3 separate regions of the Homo sapiens genome follow, and regions 1 and 2 are each linked to region 3. The links are contacts of gene promoters, found by promoter capture Hi-C in human tissues and cell types (Jung and others, 2019). All regions are on one chromosome and are shown on one strand. Each heading gives the region's core, a stretch centred on a gene start or on the middle of the fragment in contact. The rest is flanking DNA. Distances are from core to core; before and after follow the strand shown.

The links. Contacts are between HindIII fragments. The study calls those that stand out against the background at their distance.
Region 1: a fragment that was not itself captured here is called in contact with the fragment with the promoter of SMG8 in region 3 in 1 of the 25 tissues and cell types used here (dorsolateral prefrontal cortex).
Region 2: a fragment that was not itself captured here is called in contact with the fragment with the promoter of SMG8 in region 3 in 1 of the 25 tissues and cell types used here (dorsolateral prefrontal cortex).

The regions. Positions count from the first base shown.
Region 1 is chr17:59,496,254-59,499,992 of GRCh38, forward strand. The region is part of intron 2 of LINC01476 (long intergenic non-protein coding RNA 1476); the gene reads right to left. It overlaps LOC124904040 (a long non-coding RNA gene), which reads left to right. Exons shown (of 3, transcript XR_007065867.1): 3 at 2,866-3,189. Among named protein-coding and RNA genes, the nearest start is that of LINC01476, 29 kb to the right of the region's middle. The HindIII fragment of the contact is 4,149 bases long and covers 1-3,739 here.
Region 2 is chr17:59,604,645-59,608,112 of GRCh38, forward strand. It overlaps DHX40 (DEAH-box helicase 40), which reads left to right. Exons shown (of 18, transcript NM_024612.5): 16 at 471-540; 17 at 802-1,030; 18 at 2,389-3,468. The coding sequence ends at 2,528. Among named protein-coding and RNA genes, the nearest start is that of CLTC, 14 kb to the right of the region's middle. The HindIII fragment of the contact is 7,902 bases long and covers 1-3,468 here.
Region 3 is chr17:59,207,535-59,211,362 of GRCh38, forward strand. SMG8 (SMG8 nonsense mediated mRNA decay factor) reads left to right here and starts at 2,501. Exons shown (of 4, transcript NM_018149.7): 1 at 2,501-3,828. The coding sequence starts at 2,518. RefSeq lists an enhancer at 2,310-2,379. The HindIII fragment of the contact is 6,268 bases long and covers 1-3,770 here.

The sequences.
Region 1 (3,739 bases), core at 669-3,168, 290 kb after region 3:
TGCTGGCAGCTAAGCAGGAGAGGAACAGATGAAGAAATACCCCACCTTCTCCCATCTCCTGTTTCTAGTCTGTGCCCCTTCTTGGCTGAAGCCAACTGAAAGCCAGCCAGCAAGGGAGCCCAGGTGAACAAATCAGTCTGTAGGAAGCTGGCCTTCCAGAGCACTGAGCAGATGATAAATGGAGAAGAACCGGCACAGGTGTTCACTCCCAGCAGCTGGAACTCAGCCTTGGTTTTGCTCCCATGACTTAGAAGTCAATCCTATTTGGGATTTATGCTTGGAATTTAACTACCATTTATACCACTGGGTTTATGGAATTTTGATTTCTAAATAATCAACTTACTAATAAACTTGACGACACAATTCACTAGGGCGTTAGAGCCTGCCTTTATACTGAACAAGTGGGTGAAGTGTTTTTATTATTAATAAGCACAGTACTGCCTACTCAAGAAAAAGAAAACTTCTATAATCTTATTTGGCCACCACACCAAACGAACTATGGAGCCTTTTGATGATATACGTAGTATCCTCACAAAACACATGGGACCAGTATTTGGCAAATTTGATTTCTAGGTTCTGTCAAACCAGTTGCAGAGATATAGCTAGAATTTTTTTTCTCAGTTAAAAATGCTTTAAGTCTTTGAGTTCTGGTTTTCATCCTCCTCTGAATAGTTGCTGTGTGAGGATGTCCATATCTGACTCATTTTACTCTACAAATACAGAATTGCACCCAGGTGTATTTTAGGGATATTGGTCACCCTGAAGTTTTCATAGGTTTTATAGATATATGCTGGTAAGGTGGGAGGGCGGGTGAATAAGAAGTAAAATACAAGTCTTCCTGAAAGCTGATAATGCAGCATTGGGGTAGATCCCTCATTTTCTTTCTTTATTATTATTATTTTTTTTGAGACAGAGTCTCACTCTGTCACCCAGGCTGGAGTGCAGTGGCACGATCTCTGCTCACTGCAAGCTCCGCCTCCCAGGTTCATGCCATTCTCCTGCCTCAGCCTCCCGAGTAGCTGGGACTACAAGCACACAGCACCACACCCAGCTAATTTTATATTTTTAGTAGAGATGGTGTTTCACCATGTTGGCCAGGCTGGTCTCAAACTTCTGGGCTCAAGTGATCCACCTGCCTCAGCCTCCCAAAGTGCTGGGATTACAGATTTGAGCCACCATGCCCAGTCTCTCTCTCTTTTTTTTTTTTTTTTTAATAGATATAGGGTTTCACCATGTTACCCAGGTTGGTCTCAAACTCCTGGACTCAAGTGATCCACCTGCCTCAGCCTCCCAAAGTGCTGGGATTACAGGTGTGACCACTGTTCCCAGCCAAAAATCATTTCATCTTTATAACTCTAGCAGTGGGATCTGGGGCCAAGTTATATGGCTGAGTGGCATCACAATATCAATATATGATTCGTCTTTTAAAGTTTTTGTTTTAGAATATGACTTGAGAGCTGGACAGCCATACCGAATATTTCCACTGGAGCAGAGAGGACTGAGAGGCCGCTGCCCAATTTATTGTATCTGTGTTGAGTGCTAGATCTACGAATGGAACTCCATACTAGCAAACAGCAACCTCATTTCCAGTTCATTTTTCTCCTTGCTTGAGGTGTTCTAAATATTGGAAGAATCATCTATTCTAAATCAGAATGCCCCTGCTTTGTCTACTCTGTGTTTTTTTTTTAACAAGAAGCCATATTTATTGTGTTTATTGATTTATTGATGCTTAGAAAATAAGAGAATGTTGGTTTAGGGCGGGCTGAAATTTATCTTTTTGCTATGTAGAAAAGAGGCAAGTTGCTCTAATCCTTTAAGCACAGAAGCTTATAAGGAGAATTCAAATTCATGTCTGGTTTGCCTGTATTCAGAGATTCTACAGAGACAAAATTCTCTCCTAAAAGGAACTGTATACCGGCCAGCCACGGTGGCTCACGCCCGTAGTCCCAGTACTTTGGGAGGCCAAGATGGGTGGATCACTTGAGGCCAGGAGTTCGAGACCAGCCTGGACAACATGGTGAAACCCCATCTGTACTAAAAATACAAAAATTAGCTTGGCTTGGTGGCATGTGCCTGTAATCCCAGCTACTTGGGAGGCTGAGGCACGAGAATCGCTTGAACCCGAGAGGCAGGAGTTGCAGTGAGCTGAGATCACACCACTGCACTCCAGCCCGGCCAACAGAGCTAGACTGTCTCAAAAAAAAAAAAAGGAACTATATACCACCTGGCATATATCTGAAGAGAAGCAGGGTGGAGGGCAAAGTAAAATATAAGTTCAGTGGAAAAATACTTGGAAAGCCACTTGGTAACAATAAAGATATTAATTAAATCACCCAGGGCCTTATGCCATAATGATATGCACCAGGTGTTTCTGCTTCCACTTAATTAACTCAGCATAATTCCTCTTTTAGAAAACGACACATACTGTTGGGGTATATCCAGCCGAAACACACATCAGCACAAAGCTTTTAAAATGTGGTTCTTTTCAATGTACATATTAGAATGGCCTCATTTCTTTCACTATGTGTGTACTGACCTTAGTGGGTCACCTACATTAAAGGATGTGGTAGAAATAAGGCAATCCCACATTTACAGACAAGAAAACAAACAATAATGTAGTTTTATGGAAACTAAGCTTCAGAAATGCAAGGCATTCACTGGTTTCACTCAGAAACCTCTCAGATGTGGGAGAAATATGTGTGAGATTTGGACTTTCATTTATCCAAATATGAGGAATTTTTCTGCTAGAGTCAACTGGCTGATAATGGATGGAAAGGATTAGTGCAGGTCCTACTTGGCAGCCTTCTCGGTAGAAACCCATATGCTCTCTGACATTGATTATAATTATTTTTCCATCATTCCCAGGTTACATTCTTAGCAGGAATGTGAGCCAACTCTCTCCCTAGGAAGGCTCCTGCTGTGAAACCATCTTTGGCAATGAATCTTTAACAAAAGATCAAGAACTTGACATTTATTTTTAAGCACGAGAAGAAAATGTGTGCAATGTTGGAAGCAAGGACAGGGATAGGAAGAGCTTCTAAACAGTTGCAGGCAGGGGCAGTGGAACAGAAATAAATATTACATAAGTGACATGTTGGTGACTTTACTTTTGTGAAATAGCAACTAATGACTAGGTATGGAATATATGGATTATATGATGTTAAGGTTTAACGTCTTTTTAAAGTAGAAGGGTGCTCCCTCTCCCTCTCCCCATGGTCTCCCTCTCCCCATGGTCTCCCTCTCATGCCGAGCCGAGGCTGGACGATACTGCTGCCATCTCGGCTCACTGCAACCTCCCTGCCTGATTCTCCTGCCTCAGCCTGCGGAGTGCCTGCAATTGCAGGCACGCGCCGCCACGCCTGACTGGTTTTCGTATTTATTTGGTGGAGACGGGGTTTCGCTGTGTTGGCCGGGCTGGTCTCCAGCTCCTAACCGCGAGTGATCCGCCAGCCTCGGCCTCCCGAGGTGCCGGGATTGCAGACCGAGTCTGGTTCACTCAGTGCTCAATGGCGCCCAGGCTGGAGTGCAGTGGCGTGATCTCGGCTCGCTACAACCTCCACCTCCCATCCGCCTGCCTTGGCCTCCCGAAGTGCCGAGATTGCAGCCTCTGCCCGGCCGCCACCCCGTCTGGGAAGTGAGGAGCCTCTCTGCCTGGCCGCCCATCGTCTGGGATGTGAGGAGCCCCTCTGCCTGGCTGCCCAGTCTGAAAAGTGAGGAGCGTCTCTGCCCGGCCGCCATC
Region 2 (3,468 bases), core at 964-3,463, 400 kb after region 3:
TAATTGTCAAGTTTTAGAGTAGTGAAAAAATCATCCCTTTAAAAAGAGATGCAGCATAGTATAACATAAAGAAACCATATTTAAGTCAGAAGAACTGTTTAGGACTTGGTTTTACCATGCGTTAGCGCTGGTGATCTTGAGAAGTCTAGCTAATTTATTTGAATTTTAGTTTTGACTTTTTAATAAAGTTCCTGGCTCTCAAAGCTCATAGATTATTGTTAATATTTGTACTGATTCCTTATACCTAATTGTAGTGACTTATACCTAATTGTAGTGACTGTTTAACCTGTATAATTAATTTAAGATGAATTGGTAGAGAGCTTGTAGTGACAGTTGAATAAATGTAAACCTCTGCTTATAATGCTGTTTGTAGTAGAACATATTGTAATTGTTCATTGCTGAATGTAATGCTCCATTTACTTCATTGCTTTACTGTTGTAGTCTTTATCATTTTGTTTTTCTGTTTATAGATCTGTTGGGAGAACGTTTTGCACAATGGATGGTCGTGGAAGCCCAGTTCACATTCATCCTTCCTCAGCAGTAAGTACTTCATTTTTAATAAAGGGAAGAAATTTGTAAAGTTGTAGAAATAAGTAATATACAAATGTCTTCTACTTTTCACTTTGGAGTTAAATTTACATATATCTATATTACATAGATCTATAAGGGTATTGGTTGGCCTGTGCCTCCTGTTTGAAGAAGATAGGAATTAATTGAGAAGGATTTGGACTATTTGGTTGGTTTAATGTGGAATAGGGCAGGTTATTGAGTTACCATCATTAAAAGAAATGTTTTGTATAGCTTCATGAACAGGAAACCAAACTTGAATGGATCATTTTTCATGAGGTATTGGTTACCACCAAAGTCTACGCAAGAATTGTATGCCCAATCCGTTATGAATGGGTAAGAGACTTGTTACCCAAGTTGCATGAATTTAATGCACATGATTTGAGCAGTGTGGCCCGACGTGAAGTGAGAGAAGATGCAAGAAGGAGATGGACAAATAAGGAAAATGTAAAGCAGCTAAAGGGTGAGTAAATCATTTGTTCTACTCTTAACCACTATGCCATACTGCTTCCCAGTAGTACTTCACTATTTTTGTTTATAAAAATGTTGTGACCCACCTGGGCAATGTGGTGAGATCCCATCTCTAGCAAAATAAAAATAAAAATTAGCCAGGCATGTTGGTGTGCACCTGTAGTCCCAGTGACTTGGGAGGCTGATGCAGGAGGATCGCTTGAACCCAGGAGTTTGAGGCTGCAGTGAACTGTGATTTCACCAGTGCACTCCAGCCTGGGGGTGACAGAGTGAGACACTATCTCTAAAAAAAAAAAAGTGATGATTTATGCATTATTAACTCAGAATCCCCTTTGTTTCCAAGGGGCTTTTTCTTTCTTTCTTTCTTTTTCTTTCTTCTTTGAGACGGAGTTTTGCTCTTATTGCCCAGGCTGGAGTGTAATGGTGTGATTTTGGCTCACTGCAGCCTCTGCCTCCCGGTTCAAGCTATTCTCCTGCCTCAGCCTCCTGAGTAGCTGGATTACAGGCATGCACCACCACGCCTGGCTAAGTTTGTATATCCAAGGGGCTTTTTCTATGAAATAATTAGGACCCTGGTTGGGAGGCATAAATAGTTGTGGTACTGAAATAGGACAGAAAGTTTTTCAGCTCACATACACAGAAAACTTCTTAGTAAAGCTTTTTGAGGCTGAATGATGAAGCATATTGTATTTTCTTTATTTGACATCACTGCAAAATGGAATGGTGAAGAGTTTTGCCGAATAAATCATAGAAAAATCTTTAGAAATGTTAGCCACTAGGGAGGCCAGGCATGGTGGCTCACGCCTGTAATCCCAGCACTTTGGGAGACCAAGGCGGGCGGATCACGAGGTCAGGAGATCGAGACCATCCTGGCTAACACGGTGAAACCCCGTCTCTACTAAATATACAAAAAACTAGCTGGGTGTGGTGGCGGGCGCCTGTAGTCCCAGCTACTCGGGAGGCTGAGGCAGGAGAATGGCGTGAACCCAGGAGGCAGAGCTTGCAGTGAGCCGAGATTGCGCCACTGCACTCCAGCCTGGGCGACAGAGTGAGACTCCGTCTCAAAAAAAAAAAAAAAAAGAAAAGAAATCTTAGCCACTAGGTGTTCTATTACAGTGTAATAACACTGCCACATGCTTGAATTAGGGTCAGTTTTTCTGACTCATTGGCCTTGGTGCTCTTAATTTTGTAACCATAGACTACATTGCTTTTGAAAGGGCAAAATTTAATTTTTCTCTTTATTGTTTTTACTTTGTTAACACTGAAAAATCAGGGCTTCTCTTTCTCTTAACATTTCTAGTACTGAATCTCAAAGCTAAGTTTTATTGGATTAATTTGTAATGTTTTCAGATGGAATATCGAAAGACGTCTTAAAGAAAATGCAAAGAAGAAATGATGACAAATCCATATCTGATGCACGGGCTCGTTTCCTTGAGAGAAAGCAGCAGAGGACCCAGGACCACAGTGACACACGAAAGGAAACAGGCTAAGGTGGTGAACCCTCCAATTCAGGAAGTGGGAAAAGGAGCCAGGAAATGTGCTTCTACTTTGCCAGTTATTTCAGACAGCACTACCAAGAGGAGGTGGTCAGCACTTGTTATTGGCCTATGAACTAAAAGCAAATCAAAGCTCATAAATCAAAGCTCATCAGTTCCCATAAATGCAGTTGTCAAAGAAAAGATTTGGTTGCCATAGTCATAAGCAATGATACATGAAACCAATGAAAGACAGTACATGTAATAATATTTTCCTCAGTACAATTTTGCTGGCCTTAACTGGTATCAAACGCTGTCATTGAGATGTTTTCAAAGAACATTGAGTTGTATTTAATCAGCGTGTACTCCATTTGCATTGAAGCATTAAAAATTATTTTTCTTAAAATCTCTTTAAGGCCTTCTTGTTGCTGTTAGAATAGTGCTATATATCAGGTATGTGACCATTTATTTCAGAAGGCTGAACATAAGAGGTTTCTACTCAGCAATACTTAGATGTCTAACTGTTTAATTGCTACAGAGCTTTATAGATATTTAGAGAAAAGACTTAATCAATTAGTAAATAAAATTGCCTATGGCAGGATTCTTTCTTGAATTAATATTAATCCTTAAATTGATTTTTCTGGGATTATACAAATTCCTTTTTATATAAAAGTATATTGTTTAAAACAGTAGCTATAGCCATTAACCAAAGGACAGATGATATATATATATATGATATATATATATATATAAGTTCTTTTTTAGCTGTACCTACGTACTTATATCAGCACCATGTATGTAGGTGTGATAGTACTTTCAAACAGCGCCTCCACCTGGCCTACTCTGTTATTTCCACCTGTTTGGGTAGGGCCATTTAACTTCCATTATGCCAAACTTGGGATGGGATTTTCGAAGCAGACAACACTATTTCATCGTGTTTCAAATTGGAACCTTG
Region 3 (3,828 bases), core at 1,251-3,750:
AAATAAAGATTAATAAAAGTTTTGGTTTTTCCCTTTTTAACCTTTTTTTTTAACTAGAAATAATAATACCTATAGAAAAGTATATATTGGCCGGGCGCAGTGGCTCACGCCTGTAATCCCAGCACTTTGGGAGCCCAAGGCAGGTGGATCATGAGGTCAGAAGATCAAGACCATCCTGGCTAACACGGTGAAACCTGGTCTCTACTAAAAATACAAAAAATTAGCCGGGCGTGGTGGCAGGCGCCTGTAGTCCCAGCTACTTGGGAGGCTGAGGCAGGAGAATGGCATGAACCCGGGAGGCAGAGCTTGCAGGGAGCTGAGATCACGCCACTGCACTCCAGCCTGGGCAACAGAGTGAGACTCTGTCTCAAAAAAACAAAAAAGTATATAGTAAGTATAGAAAATATATGAATTAAAAAATCAATGCCGAGCGTGATGGCTCAAACCTATAATCCCAGCACTTTGGGAGGCCGGGGTGGGCAGATCACCTGGGGTTGGAAGTTCGAGACCAGCCTGGCTAACGTGGGGAAACCCCATCTCTACTAAAAATACAAGTTTAGGTGGGCGTGGTGGTACGTGCTTGTAATCCCAGCTACTTGGGAGGCTGAGGCAGAAGAATTGCTTGAGGAGACGGAGACAGGGAATAGGAGATGGAGGTTGCCGTGATCCCAGATAGCACCACTGCACTTCAGCCTGGGTGACAGAGTGAGACTCTGTCTCACAAAAAAAAAAAAAAAAAATTTTAGGCCGGAGGCGAGGTGTGGTGGCTGACACCTGTAATCCCAGCACTTTGGGAGGCCGAGGTGGGTGGATGATGTGAGGTCGGGAGTTCGAGACCAGCCTGGCCAACATGGTGAAACACCATCTCTACTAAAAATACAAAAATTAGCCGCCCATGGTGGTGCACCTGTAATCCCAGCTCCTTGGGAGGCTGAGGCAGTAGAATCACTTGAACCTGGGAGGTGGAGTTTGCAGTGAGCTTAGATTGCACCACTGTACTCCACTCTGGGCAACAGAGCAAGACTCTGTCTCAAAATATATATAATATATATTATTATGTATATATATAATATATATTATTATGTATATGTGTAATATATATTATTATGTATATATATAATATATATATTATATCATAATCCCTTCCCTCACTAAGTAATCACTGACCTACTTGGTACAATAAATATTTCCTTGCTTTTAGTAAGAACACACCCCTAAATGCAATGGTTTATTTTGCTTGCTTTTGAACTCTATAGAAATAAAATCAGGCCTGGCGCAGTGGCTCTCGCCTGTAATCCCACCACTTTGGGAGGCCGAGGCGGGCAGATCATGAGATCAGGAGATTGAGACTATCCTGGCCAACATGGTGAAATCCTGTCTCTATTAAAAATACAAAAGTTAGCTGGGTGTGGTCTCACGCACCTGTAATCCCAGCTACTTGGGAGGCTGAGGCAAGAGAATCACTTGCACCGGGGAGCCGGAGGTTGCAGTGAGTCGAGATCGCGCCACTGAACTCTAGCCTGGCCACAGAGCAAGACTGCATCTCCAAAAAAAAAAAAAAAAAAAAAAAAAAATAGAATTATAGGGTATATACACTTTTGTTTCTGATTTCTTTCAATCAACATTTATTTTAAAGATTCAGTCATGTTATTGTATAGTGCTATAGATAATTTTTTTAGATTCAAAGATTTTTATTTTTTACAAAACCCCAGAATAATAAACGTTATAATTATACATTTAAATCTGGTTGTAAGTTTTATCCTGGCAGCTATTTGTCAATATGCCTTCTAGTTAGAGAGGTTCTGCAAGTTATAATTTACATACAAAGATATTTCGCAATTTTTTTTTTTTTTGAGACGGAGTCTCACTCTGTCGCCCAGGCTGGAGTGCAGCGGGGTGATCTCGGCTCACTGCAACCTCCACCTCCTGGTTCGAGCAATTCTCCTGCCTCAGCCTCCTGAGCAGCTGGAACTACAGGTATGCGCCACCACGCCTAATTTTTGCTTTTTTTTTTTTTTTTTTTTTTTTTTTTAGACGGTTTTCGCTCTTGTTGCCCAGGCTGGAGTGCAATGGTGTGATCTCGGTTCACTGCAACTTCCGCCTCCCGGGTTCAAGCGATTGTCCTGCCTCAGCCTCCCGAGTAGCTGGGATTACAGGCGCCCGCCACCACGCCCGGCTAATTTTCGTATTTTTAGTAGAGATGGGGTTTCACCATGTTGGCCAGCCTGGTCTCGAACTCCTGACTTCAGGTGATCCGCCCGCCTTGGCCTCCCAAAGTGCTAGGATTACAGGCGTGAGCCACCGCAGTAGTCCCAGTTTTGTTTTGTTTTTTTGTTTTTTGTTTTTGATATCTCAATTCCTACAGTTGAGGAAACAAACTAGGAGAGGAGAAGAGGAGGCGGAACTCAAGTGACGGGAAAGCAGGAACTGAAGAAGCGGAGGAAGGATTTCAAAATTGGACGAAAGCCGGTCGGTTTTACTAACGGACCGGAAGGACTCTAGAGAACGCTCTGCACTATGGCTGGTCCCGTGAGCTTGCGAGACCTTCTAATGGGAGCATCAGCCTGGATGGGCTCTGAAAGTCCCGGAGGGTCCCCTACTGAGGGCGGAGGGAGCGCGGCTGGCGGACCGGAGCCTCCATGGCGGGAGGATGAGATCTGCGTTGTGGGAATCTTCGGCAAGACGGCTCTACGCCTGAATTCCGAGAAGTTCTCTCTTGTGAATACGGTGTGCGACCGACAGGTCTTTCCTCTCTTTCGCCACCAAGATCCTGGGGATCCAGGACCTGGAATCAGAACTGAGGCTGGCGCCGTGGGTGAGGCCGGTGGAGCCGAGGACCCTGGGGCTGCAGCCGGGGGTTCAGTTCGGGGAAGTGGAGCTGTCGCGGAAGGTAACCGAACTGAGGCAGGCTCCCAGGACTACAGCCTTCTGCAGGCCTACTACAGTCAGGAAAGCAAAGTTCTGTATCTTCTCCTCACCTCCATCTGTGACAATTCACAGCTTCTCCGGGCTTGTCGGGCTCTTCAGAGCGGGGAAGCTGGAGGTGGACTCTCTTTACCTCATGCAGAAGCACACGAGTTCTGGAAGCATCAAGAGAAGCTGCAGTGCCTCAGTCTCCTTTACCTATTCTCTGTCTGTCATATCTTGCTTCTGGTCCATCCCACTTGTTCCTTTGATATCACTTATGATCGAGTATTCAGAGCCCTGGATGGGCTGAGACAGAAGGTCCTGCCGCTCCTTAAAACAGCCATTAAGGATTGTCCAGTTGGCAAAGACTGGAAGCTAAACTGCCGACCTTGCCCACCTAGACTCCTTTTCCTCTTTCAACTCAATGGAGCCCTCAAGGTAGAACCTCCTCGGAACCAAGACCCAGCTCATCCAGACAAGCCCAAGAAACATTCTCCCAAAAGGAGGCTGCAGCATGCCCTGGAGGACCAGATCTATAGAATCTTCCGGAAGAGTCGTGTCTTGACTAATCAGAGCATCAACTGCCTCTTTACTGTGCCTGCCAACCAAGCTTTCGTGTACATAGTACCGGGAAGCCAGGAGGAGGACCCAGTAGGTATGTTGCTGGACCAACTTAGGAGTCATTGTACTGTGAAGGACCCGGAATCTTTGCTGGTGCCTGCACCCCTTTCTGGGCCTAGGCGATACCAGGTGATGAGGCAGCACAGCCGACAACAACTTTCCTTTCACATTGACAGCAGCAGTTCCAGTTCTTCAGGCCAGCTAGTGGATTTCACTCTTCGGGAATTCCTATGGCAGCATGTGGAGCTAGTTCTAAGCAAGAAAGGTTTCGATGACAGTGTGGGCAGGAACCCACAGCCT